2 separate regions of the Homo sapiens genome follow, and region 1 is linked to region 2. Evidence: promoter capture Hi-C in 16 types of primary human blood cells and fetal thymus (Javierre and others, 2016). All regions are on one chromosome and are shown on one strand. Each heading gives the region's core, a stretch centred on a gene start or on the middle of the fragment in contact. The rest is flanking DNA. Distances are from core to core; before and after follow the strand shown. Region 1 holds the start of IL36A (interleukin 36 alpha). Region 2 overlaps CKAP2L (cytoskeleton associated protein 2 like).

The links. The method cuts DNA at HindIII sites, captures the fragments that hold promoters and counts their contacts. A CHiCAGO score of 5 or more calls a contact.
Region 1: the fragment with the promoter of IL36A here is called in contact with a fragment that was not itself captured in region 2 in 2 of 17 cell types (M1 macrophages and M2 macrophages); the score reaches 9.5 in M1 macrophages.

What each region holds. Positions count from the first base shown.
Region 1 is chr2:113,001,241-113,006,739 of GRCh38, reverse strand. It overlaps IL36A (interleukin 36 alpha), which reads right to left and starts at 1,281. Exons shown (of 4, transcript NM_014440.3): 1 at 859-1,281; 2 at 653-766; 3 at 3-142. The coding sequence starts at 868. The HindIII fragment of the contact is 6,987 bases long and covers 1-4,927 here.
Region 2 is chr2:112,741,874-112,747,466 of GRCh38, reverse strand. CKAP2L (cytoskeleton associated protein 2 like) reads left to right here. Exons shown (of 9, transcript NM_152515.5): 6 at 892-1,047; 7 at 4,698-4,761. It also overlaps a transcript of NT5DC4 not described here. Among named protein-coding and RNA genes, the nearest start is that of CKAP2L, 20 kb to the left of the region's middle. The HindIII fragment of the contact is 823 bases long and covers 2,633-3,455 here.

The DNA of each region.
Region 1 (5,499 bases), core at 32-2,531, 260 kb before region 2:
ACCTTCAGCTGCAGTGTGGGCTGGTCCCCGACTTTAGCACACATCAGGCAGAGATTGAGTCCATTCAGGCCCAGGTAGATGGGGTTCCCTCTGTCTTTCTCAAGGGTCTCCACATGTCGGCATGAGATTAAGGCAATAGTGACTGGGAACACGATGTGAAAAGTGGTGTTCAGCTGCCATTTCCAGGGTGGTACCTCTGAGCCAGAGTTTTAAGGGAATCTGCTAACTGACACTCACAGTGCACTCATAGAATGGTCACCTCACCACCCACCACCTAACCGGGACACCCATCCTATGTTTGGGGAACACTTTCCATTAGAAAAGTCAGTCTTTCATGGATTCAAAAACTGGTCCTCCCATAGATTACCCTCTTTTGTCCTACTCTTACTCCTTGAAGTTTCTCAGAATACGTCTTCCACTGTTTTTCATAGGCTGACCCTTCAGTCTCCCTTAAGCCTTCTCTCTCTTCTCTGACTTCATGACCATAGTCCCAGAACAACCTTATGCTCACCCTCTATTCATTATTGTCTGTGAGATGCTCCTCTCTGTAGATATGCCCGGTTAACAAGCCCACTGTGGAATAACATCTGAGCACCAAACACACAACAGCACTGGCCAAAGGAGCTGCCTTTCACAGACCGTGGCTACTCACCTGGAGACATACGGTCCTTCCTCGGGACTGCTATGAGCGTCTGGTCCTGAAGAACCCACACCCGATGATTGATATCCTGAATGCTCCCCTGCTGAGGTGTGTCAATTTTCAATGCTGTTGAGAAAGTCAAAATGTAAATTAGTAAGAATGAGAGCACAGAATATCACCCCCTTGTCAATTTTTCGCCCTTCCACGAGGATCTTTACCTTTTTCCATTGTGGTGGTGTTGTTTCAGAACTGCCAAGGATAGGAGTCCTTTTATGTGCAGACCGACCCCAAGAGAGGACCTGAGTCAGTCCCAAGCCACAGTTTAACCCTGGGTCAGATGAAAGACTGGCGGCCAGCCCAGCAGTGACCCCAGTCAGAATCTATACTCCCAGAACTCACCCAGCACCCTTACTTTGTTGGATGCAGTCTACCTCCAGCAGAAGCAGCTGCACCTATGAATCCTGCCCAGGCCTAGACCCAGGAACTCTAATATGACAAAGAGTGCCAAGGCCAAAGACCTGGAAGCAAAAAAAATCAGAGGTCACCAGACTTTCCAGCATAGGCCACACTGATAATCTGTTACGAAGGACCCTGTATCCCTACCATTATGAACAATGGCTTCTACTGCACTTGGGTTTTCTGACAGGCTGTAACAGGGCCCAGGCCTTTTATCCACATGGGCAAGGAAGGAAGTTCTGCCTCACTAAGTCTGGCACTGCCCAACACTCAGGATATTTTCTAGTTCCTGATGCCAGAGGATTTAGTGACTCTTTATGTGAACAGCATGGTTAAGACTTCTCCAAGCAACCTGAAACATGAGGGCATGCTAAACTTTTAAGAGCAGGAAATATAGTCACAGATACTGAGTTGAGAAACATTACGGGACTTCTTCCGGGTCAATGACTCATCTCTGATGCCACAAAATGAAACGATGGAATTATTCCTAAGAGTGGGAGCCCTCAGTAAGTGCAAGGTAGACTGAGGAGGGATAGGTCTCTTAAGACCTCTGTAGCTTCTAATCACTCCTGGTCCACAGGAACTATATTCTTGGTCAATTTCAGACCAGAAGCCCACTCACTCCAGTGACCCTCCTCCAGCTTCTCAGAGCCACTGTGCATGCTGCTTCTCCATGGAAGAAGGGAGTATTACTGTAGCAAAGCCAGCTCCTGAGCACTCTAGCCACCTCAATGGACTCTAGATCACTATCTCTAGTATAGGTAGCGTGATAGTAAATTTTAAGTGTCAATTTGACTGGTTTAAGGAATACTTAAAGAACTGGTAATACATTAGTTTGGGGTAAGTCTATGAGGGTGTTTCCAAAGAAGATTGGTGTGTAAGTCAGTGTACTAGTGGGGAACATCTACCCTCAACGTAGGTGGGATCCATCCAACTGGCCGGGGGCATGGATGGCATGGAAAAGACAGAGAAAAGGTGATTTTCTGTCTCTCCTGGAGCTGGGGCATTCTCTCCTGCCTTTGGACATTATAACTCCAGACTTTGGACTCCAGGACTTAATATCAGCATCTCCCTGGGTTCTCAGGCTTTCTATCCCAAAGTGAGAATTACACCAGTGGCTTCCTAGTTCTGAGGCTTTAGGACTTGAACTGAGCATGTTACCTGCATCCCAGGGTCTCCAGCTTGCAGGTGGTCTGTCATGGGATTTCTCAGCCTCCAAAATTGCATGAGTTCATTCCCCTAATAAATCCCCTTTCATACAAGAGGTCATCAAAAAGTTCATGGAAAATGCATATTATGAAAAAAACTATGCATGGATTTTGAATTATTTTGCACCAAAATAAACTCCTACTAACTTGTTATAAGGTGTTTGAACAGGATCTAGTTTGAGGCACTAAGAAAGGTAAGACATCAGTTTGAAAAGAGCCCCTATAAGATCAACATGAATTCTTCTAAAATTGAAGCAAGAACAAAAATCAAATTTATGGTGAAACTTGGGTGGAAGAATGGTGAAATCATTGATGGCTTATAAAAAGTTTGTGGGGACAATGACCCAAAGAAATCAGCAGTTTACAATGGATAACTCATTTTAAGAAGTGAGACAATATTGAAAATAGCACCTGCAGCAGCAGACCATCCACATCACTTTGCAAGGAAAAAACTAATCTTTTTGTGCCCTAGTTGAAGAGGACTGAATATTAACAGCAGAAATGATAGCCAATATCATAGACATCTTAATTGGTTCAGCTTACACAATTATGACTAAAAAACTTAAAGTTGAAGCACAATGGCTCATGTCTGTAATCCCAGAACTTTGGGAGGCCGAGGCAGGCAGATCACCTGAGGTCAGGAGTTCAAGACCAGCCTGGCCAACACAGCAAAACCCTGTCTCTACACAAGTTTGTCAGTTGACCCTGCAGAACCCACTTATACAAAAAGTCAGCCCTCTTCATCCACAGGCTCAGCATCCCTCAATGCTGGTTGGTTGAACCTGCAGATACAAAGTGCCGATTCTGTATGTGTGTCTGTGTTTGTGTGCATAAACACACATCCTAATGATTCTATCTCTCTGGAGGCTCCTGACTAATACAGCAGGAAAGGAAGCCTGGCTGCCAGAGGCCCCAGTGCTCTGAGCTCGCAGTACCTGACATTAGGTCTACACTAAAAGGAAGCTGAGGTAATACTGTTGATGCTCTGCTCCATACCTTCAACAACCTGAGTTCACAACTGCTGTTGGAGATCCTAGCATCTGTCAGCTTCACACCTCTAGGGCTTCCATCTCAGGGGCAACTTCAGTAAGTGGTGAAAGAAACTGGTAGACAAATGTTCAGCCACCCCATCCTCTGATACGATAACACTAAGGTTTCTCAGAGTTGCCCCATAATAGTAACAAGATCACTAGCATTTTCTCTATTGGATCTCCTGGAATAATCCCCTGAATGAGCTCCCTGCATCCAGGATCTGCCTTGGGGAGAACCCAAACTAACACAGTAGTTTGGTGTTTGAAAGCAAAATACTTGTATTCAAAAGATGTGCATTCAAAATTAGGTTTTGCAACTTTTGGAATTGTGTCTTTGGAGAAATTCTATCACATCCCTGATCCTCAGATGACGCATATGAAATGCATTACACCTTGCTGGGCTGTTATGTGGGTTAAAGAAGAGCATGAAAAGCTCTCCATAAGTGACAGCTTCCTGGAGCAACTGACCTAATGAGTCCCCTATGTCTGTCACCAAGCCCCAGATTGACCTGTTTATCTCAGTCAGCATTTTTGCTGTGACTACCAATAGATCATCTCAGATCTCGGTTTTTTTGCAACTTCATCAATGACCTATCTGGCCAGCAGGAGAATTTCCTTCTGTTTACACCCTGTCTCCTTCCCAGATATTCCTACTGCATGGTATGATATAAAAGGCCATTAAAATTTTGTCCCAGGGAGCCCCACAGTCATCTCCTCAAGAGTGTGAAATCATGTATAGCCCAAATTTAAATGTGTAGCAGGTATCCCTGAGTCAAAATTAGAATTTGGTATCACGCTGAGTTTATAAAGAGGAGCTTCCTCAGGTCTCCATTAGCATAAGATGATTTCCATACTCAAAGAAGAAAGTTCAGAGCCTATGACATCAGCTCCACTCTCTCTGCACAGAACTGAACCCACATGAATATCTTGGGGGAAGAGGCCCAAGGTCCTTCCATAGGTATGAAGATGCAAACAGACAAAACATATTGGTTTGGATGCTGCACATATGAATGCAAACTCATTTGTGACAACAGCTAAGATGTAGGTCCTTTAAAATTCTTATTTCATCCCATAGATACTTGGAGCTCTATATGGCCTGGGTACTTAGGCCACAGTGCCATCAGTGGAGGTGGTGAGGGCTGTGGTGATACCAGATTGTTCAAGACCTGTACTTATTTCTCTCTAGCATGGAGGAAACATCCTTTATAGCCAAAAGGGTGAATGCTCCTGAGAAAGGACACTGAGCCAAATATGATGAAGGAAACTTCTCACTCTGCAAGAAAAGAATTCCACAGGAGTAAAGCCTAGAGTTGCAGCCTTCTCTATCTCTTCAGCTATCCAGAACTAGACCTGTCTTGGGATTTCATTCCTTTGTCCATCCCTATCTATCCTTCATTACTCACTTCAAAGTTTAATATAGTCACCTCTACCCTGCAAATCTTTCCCAAATCCTATAGCACAATTTCCACCATTTATTTTGGCTACTATTATTCATGTATTGCCAAATCATTAGATAAAATTTTCCTTGTTGTGTACATCTTTAATACTTAAGGTGTACTTTATGGATGATACATTGGCATTATTTTGAAGCTTGCCAGAAATGCAGAATCTCAGGTCCTACTCCAGACCTACAGAACCAGGATCTAAAATAAGGGAACAGTAAAACCACTATATGCTCTCTGCTGATATAGTACACCTTATGCTCAGTACTGTAGTCACACCAGCACAAAAATAAAGAAGTCAGTGCACAGGGTTGGGGCTGGGGAGGTGGCAAGCTCAGGAAATCTAGATTGCCTTTCTCCAACCTCTAAGAACCATGGAGAGGACTGTCCTGGCACTGACTTTCACTGAAGAGAGAAAGAAAAAGAAAAGAAACATTTCTGGAGGGCTGTGGCCAGGGACAGACTCTCACAAAGATTTTCACACTAAATACTCATAGCTTCATTGAGCTAAAAACAATCAAACTGTATTCAATTTTATGTAGGCTAAACTCATTCCACAAGAAGCAAAAAGAAAGTCTCTCTAGAGGAGGGAAGAGTCACTCAGATACATTTTCAACGGCACAAGCCACACATAGTTGAAGATTACCAGGCATATGAGTAAACAAGGTCACAAGAACAAGAACAACAAGAAAAAAGAAACAAAGCAAACAAAACAAGATAAC
Region 2 (5,593 bases), core at 1,795-4,294:
ATTCTTTACACTGCTATTAGTCCTATGGAAATTCTCATCACTACTCAGTGTTCTCGTTATTATAAATATGGAATATTATGAATATGTAAATGTTTACTCTAGGATTTGTTTTGTTTTTGTACCATGTAAAAATGAACATATTTCTTACCTTCAGCTATGATAAACATTTTCTATTTGGTCTCATATAACTCTTAAAATTTAATGATGAGGAAGCCAGGCTCAGTGGCTCATGCCTGTGGTCTCAGCTACTCGAGAGGCTAAGGTGGGAGGATTGCTTGATCCCAGGAGGTAGAGGTTGCAGCGAGTTGTGATCGTACCACTGCACTCCAGCCTGGGCAACAGAGTAAGACCTTGTCTCAAAAAAAAAAAGAAAAATTAAGCCAGGCATGGTGGCTCATGCCTGTAATCCCAGCACGTTAAGAGGCTGAGGTGGGCGGATCACGAGGTCAGGAGATCAAGACCATCCTGGCTAACACGGTGAAACCCCATCTCTACTAAAAATACAAAAAATTAGCCGAGCATGTGGTGGCATGTGCCTGTAGTCCCAGCTACTGGGGAGGCTGAGGCAGGAGACTTGCTTGAACCTGGGAGGTGGAGGTTGCAGTGAACCGAGATCGCGCCATTGCACTCCAGCCTGGACGACAGAGCAAGACTCCATCTCAAAAAAAAAATAATAATTATTATTAATCTCAAATCATTAAAATGGATAATTAAAACAGGTGCATTTTATTACATGTACATTGTACCTCAGTAAAATTGAAATTTTTTTAAAAGTTCAAAAATATTAGTGATCAAACCAATTTCTGCATACCTGCTGTAATAAATATTAGGAGATGTGAGACTAACAGTGAAATGGTAATAATTACCTCTGGATATTTTGGTTTATTTCAGGGTGTACCTTCTAATGAAATACTTAACATATTGTCCAGCATTCCTGAAGCTGAAAAATTTGCTAAATTCTGGATCTGCAAAGCAAAGTTGTTGGCAAGTAAAGGCACCTTTGATGTTATTGGGCTATATGAAGAGGCCATTAAAAATGGGGCAACAGTGAGTATCTGTCTTGGGTGGGTAACTTCTTAAAATTCTCTTTCATGTGAGTTCTCTGTTGTTGTTTGTAATATGATGGTTAGAAGTTTGCAACATCAATATCCAACACTTATAAAGTCATACCTTACCATAAAGAACTTAAAAATATATTAAACCCAATACGTCAGCATCCTTAAATCAATAATTCAGAGCCATTGCATGAAATAACTTTTAATTCTAAAATTTAGAAAAAAAAACTATATAATTATTATTTACAAAAACTGCATCAAATAGTTTTATAATGCTTTTCCTTAAAATGTCATTTTCCATGTCATGTTCTGTATTCTGTGTGATACCTTTTTCCATAATGGTTCAAAATCAGAATTGTACATGCACATAGTTTAAGCAGTCAAGTAGTTTGATAAGTTTCGTTCAGTAAGACCTCTGCCTTCCTTCCCTCCCATTTTCCCCTTCCTAGAGCAAACTGATTTATTTTTATATTAACCTCTATAGTTTCAGAAAACGTGTTTCTGTTTCTTGATTTTTCAGTTTTAGATATGATTTATGGACTTCCAGCTATGCAGAGTGAAGATTTAGCCCTCTTTCACACATACATACACAGATCCCCAGCACACACAAATACACACCCCTATTTACCATCCTTATAGACCTTTGCCATTCCTTATACTTTCATTAGAGTCATGGAAATTCTGGTCACTATTTAGCATTCACATTGTTATGAATATATAAGAAATATATGGGCTGGGCACGGTGTTTCACGCCTGTAATCCCAGCACTTGGGGAGGCCGAGGCAGGTGGATCACAAGGTCAGGAGATCGAGACCATTTTGGCTAACATGGTGAAACCCCATCTCTACTAAAAAATACAAAAAAGTTAGCCGGGCGTGGTGGCGGGCACCTGTAGTCCCAGCTACTCGGGAGGCTGAGGCAGGAGAATGGCATGAACCTGGGAGGCAGAGCTTGCAGTGAGCCGAGATCGGGCCACTGCACTCCAGCCTGGGCAACAGTGCAAGACTGTCTCAAAAAAAAAAAAAAATACATGAATATGTTGAGCCATGCAATATATACTATGATTACTTTGCCTTTCAAGCACAACTTTCTACTTTTCCTGGAGTTATTGTCTTGTTTTGCCTTTGCTTAGTTTTCTGAGTATTTATTATATAATTAATTCACAAACTCTTCGCTAATTGTCTAAGTTCCTCAATACTTTGAAAACATCAGATATTCTATTGATTCCTTTTTCTTAGATAAAGAGCTTTCTCCTAGACCCTTCTGGCTTATTCCAGACTGAACAAGTTACTTTTTACTGCCGTCTTCACCAGCTGTCTTTCTGGGATCTCTTTACCATCACCTTTAGATTCCCTTTACATCCTTCTTAAGTTGGGTGGATCCCTTGTTTTTAGAACCCATATTAGTTTTCTTCTTCCTACATTGTCTATTTCTTCTCCAATGTTTTTCATTTCTTTCTCTCTTGTTATTGTTTGTTTGTTCTTTTTGTTTTGTTCTCTATTATTCTTTAAAGGCTTTACACAGATGCTGGTGAAACTGGGCTGTTTGCACATATAAAAGGTGGGTCTGAAAAAGCTTATTTAAAGCCCGAGACACATGGATGGGGCTTCAACACAGGGTGATCTGGCTGAGTTGACTAGTTAGAAAACCCTCAATATCAGTATCTTTAGGTCTTTCCTCTTAAGCTGGTCAAGTTATCTGGAGAAATCTGTTCCAATCTCCTTCCTGGGAGCTAGACACCAGGCTGCCAGTGCTGTGGGAGAGAAGAGAGCAGGGAGTCTCAACCCTCAACATAGAAACTTTTGCTTATCTCCTTTTCTCAGAAAGCACCCTATCCTAATCTTGCATGATATCCCTCAGAGACTTGCAGAATACATTCCCAGTTTTCTGTTAGGATGAAGGGAGTCAGACACAGTTACTAGGCTGCATAGAGTTTAGGGGTGCAGGATGGATTTGGAGGTCTGACTGCTTTTTGAACAGATGCTAAAGAGTCCTCCTAATTTGGGCCCTACCACCCATTCCTTAGCCTTTCTGTCAGGTTGTTTCTTAGCCACACTGCCAGCTTGGGATTCAACTCTCTCAAGTAGATCAAATTGTTTACCTCTCTTCCTTCTGCACTGCAGCTTCCAAAACCTTATTGTCATTTCTTCTCTCCTATGTTTTGTGGTTATTGCCTCTTCTTAATCCCTTTATTATCCTTTCAGTCGATTTTCAAGAGAGATTAGAAATAAACGTATATTTAATCCACCATCATTAACCAGAAGGCTATACAAATATAAAATATGCTTGATGAATGTTGTATAGAATTCACTCTTTGTAATATATTCTATACATTTATTCCCATTCATTTAGCTGAAATCATAATTCTATTTTGGATTTTGAAAAAATGTACGGAAAGCTTTGCTTTTATGCTTTATTGTCAGTTTATATCTATTTGATACAGAGTTCCAGGTAAGGAAGACAAACCTCCAACTATAATTTTCTTGTGGGAAAGTGCAGCTTCTGCTTCATGGCATGGTTTACATACTTGAAAAATAAAGCCTATCTCAGATAATTTTATCAGAAAATTACTTTTCCATGAAGGTTTTTTTTTCTAAGTATGTTAACAAATAAAAGAAGAAAGACAGGAAAAGCTGGAGAAAATTACTCAAAATGCCTACAAAGATTGTATCTGGGCCAGGCACAGTGGCTTACCCCTGTAATCTCAGCACTTTGGGAGGCTGAGGCAGGCGGATCACTTGAGATCAGGAGTTTGAGACCAGCCTGGCCAACGTAGCGAAACCCCGTCTCTACTAAAAATAGAAAAATTAGCCAGATGGGGTGGCGCATGCCTGTAATCCCAGCTCTTCGGGAGGCTGAGGCAGGAGAATCACTTGAACCCTGGAAGTGGAGTTTGTGGTGAGCCGATACCGCACCATTGCACTCCAGCTTGGGTGACAGAGACTCCATCTCAAAAAACATTGTGTTTGGGGCCAGGTACAGTGGCTCACTCGTGTAATCCCAGCAGTTTGGGAGGCCGAGGCGGGTGGATCACGATGTCAGGAGATCGAGACCATCCTGGCTAACACGGTAAAACCCCATCTCTACTAAAAATACAAAAAATTAGCTGGGCGTGGTGGTGGGCGCCTGTAGTCCCAGCTACTTGGGAGGCTGAGGCAGGAGAATGGCATGAACCCAGGAGGCAGAGCTTGCAATGAGCCGAGATCGCGCCACTGCACTCCAGCCTGGGACAGAGTAAGACTCTGTCTCAAGAAAATATATCTATATCTATATATAAAATGCATTTTCTGTGTGGCTAGCTTTACATCATTGGGCCAGAATTTTTATGTAGGAATACATATTTGACAGTATTATACAAATCAATAGGAAAATAGAATTTGATGTAGACAAATTACATTATGGACAACTTTAAATACATCTGTTCATTAAGTCGAGTGTGCCAACACTTAATCAGAATTTTCTCTGTTCCTTTACTTTTCTCATGAAGCTATAAAACTGTCAAGCTAGACAAAAGATTTATAGTTAGACGAGATTTTAAAAGGAAACTTTTATTATAAAACATGTATTTGAAGTTAAAGTTCCTTAGCAAATTTTTTGCATGAATGTTTTTAAGATTTTGTATGTTTTCTTCCTTCCTTCCAGCCAATACAAGAGTTGCGGAAAGTTGTTCTTAATATCTTGCAAGACTCAAACAGAACCACAGAAGGTACTATTATTTTTGAATTTAAATTCATCTTCTCTAGCTGTACCAGTAAAAATCATCCAGGACATATAGGAAAAAGAAGAAAAGAATCATCCCCTGAAATGCTTCTCACTTCTTGGTTTCCATGACCTGGCCCTTTCAGCCATTGTCATCAGCTGACTTATTTGTATTATTACAAGTAAATGCACTACTCAATACTGAACAAAGGTTGTTTCCACCAAAACAGCCTAGACTGGAGTGTCCCACTTCCTTGGAATCCTAGATGGCAGAAGACAAACAGCTCTTTGCTGGAAGAGACTGAGGCAGAAAGGAGAAATGCCTTAAGTTACATGTTTAATCATAATAAACCCACCAACATACTCATCTAAATTTGTGTTACGCTTTAAAAATAGCTATCTCAGGAATCTCTTCAATTGGATGACCATCACTGTCAGTGGTCATAACCTTTAGAAGACTCTTCTATGAGACATATATTGTGCCAAACACGAGTGACATTATAATTGCTTACGATACTTGTTATATGAATGGAAAGAAAAAACAAGCTATCTTTAGAAAATAAATTGGATTCTTCTTGTTATCTTAAAAGGTGACAAATCTTTTTCCTTTAATAGTAGATTTAGGCTGCATACGGTAGCTCACGCCTGTAATCCCGGCACTTTGGGAGGCCAAGGCAGGTGGATCACCTGAGGTCAGGAGTTTGAGACCAGCCTGACCAACGTGGTGAAACCCTGTCTTGTCTTTAAAAAAAAAAAAAAAAAAAAAAAAAAACAGAAAAGAAAAATTAGCCAGTTGTGGTGGTGCGTGCTTGTAATCCCAGATACTCAGGAGGCTGAGG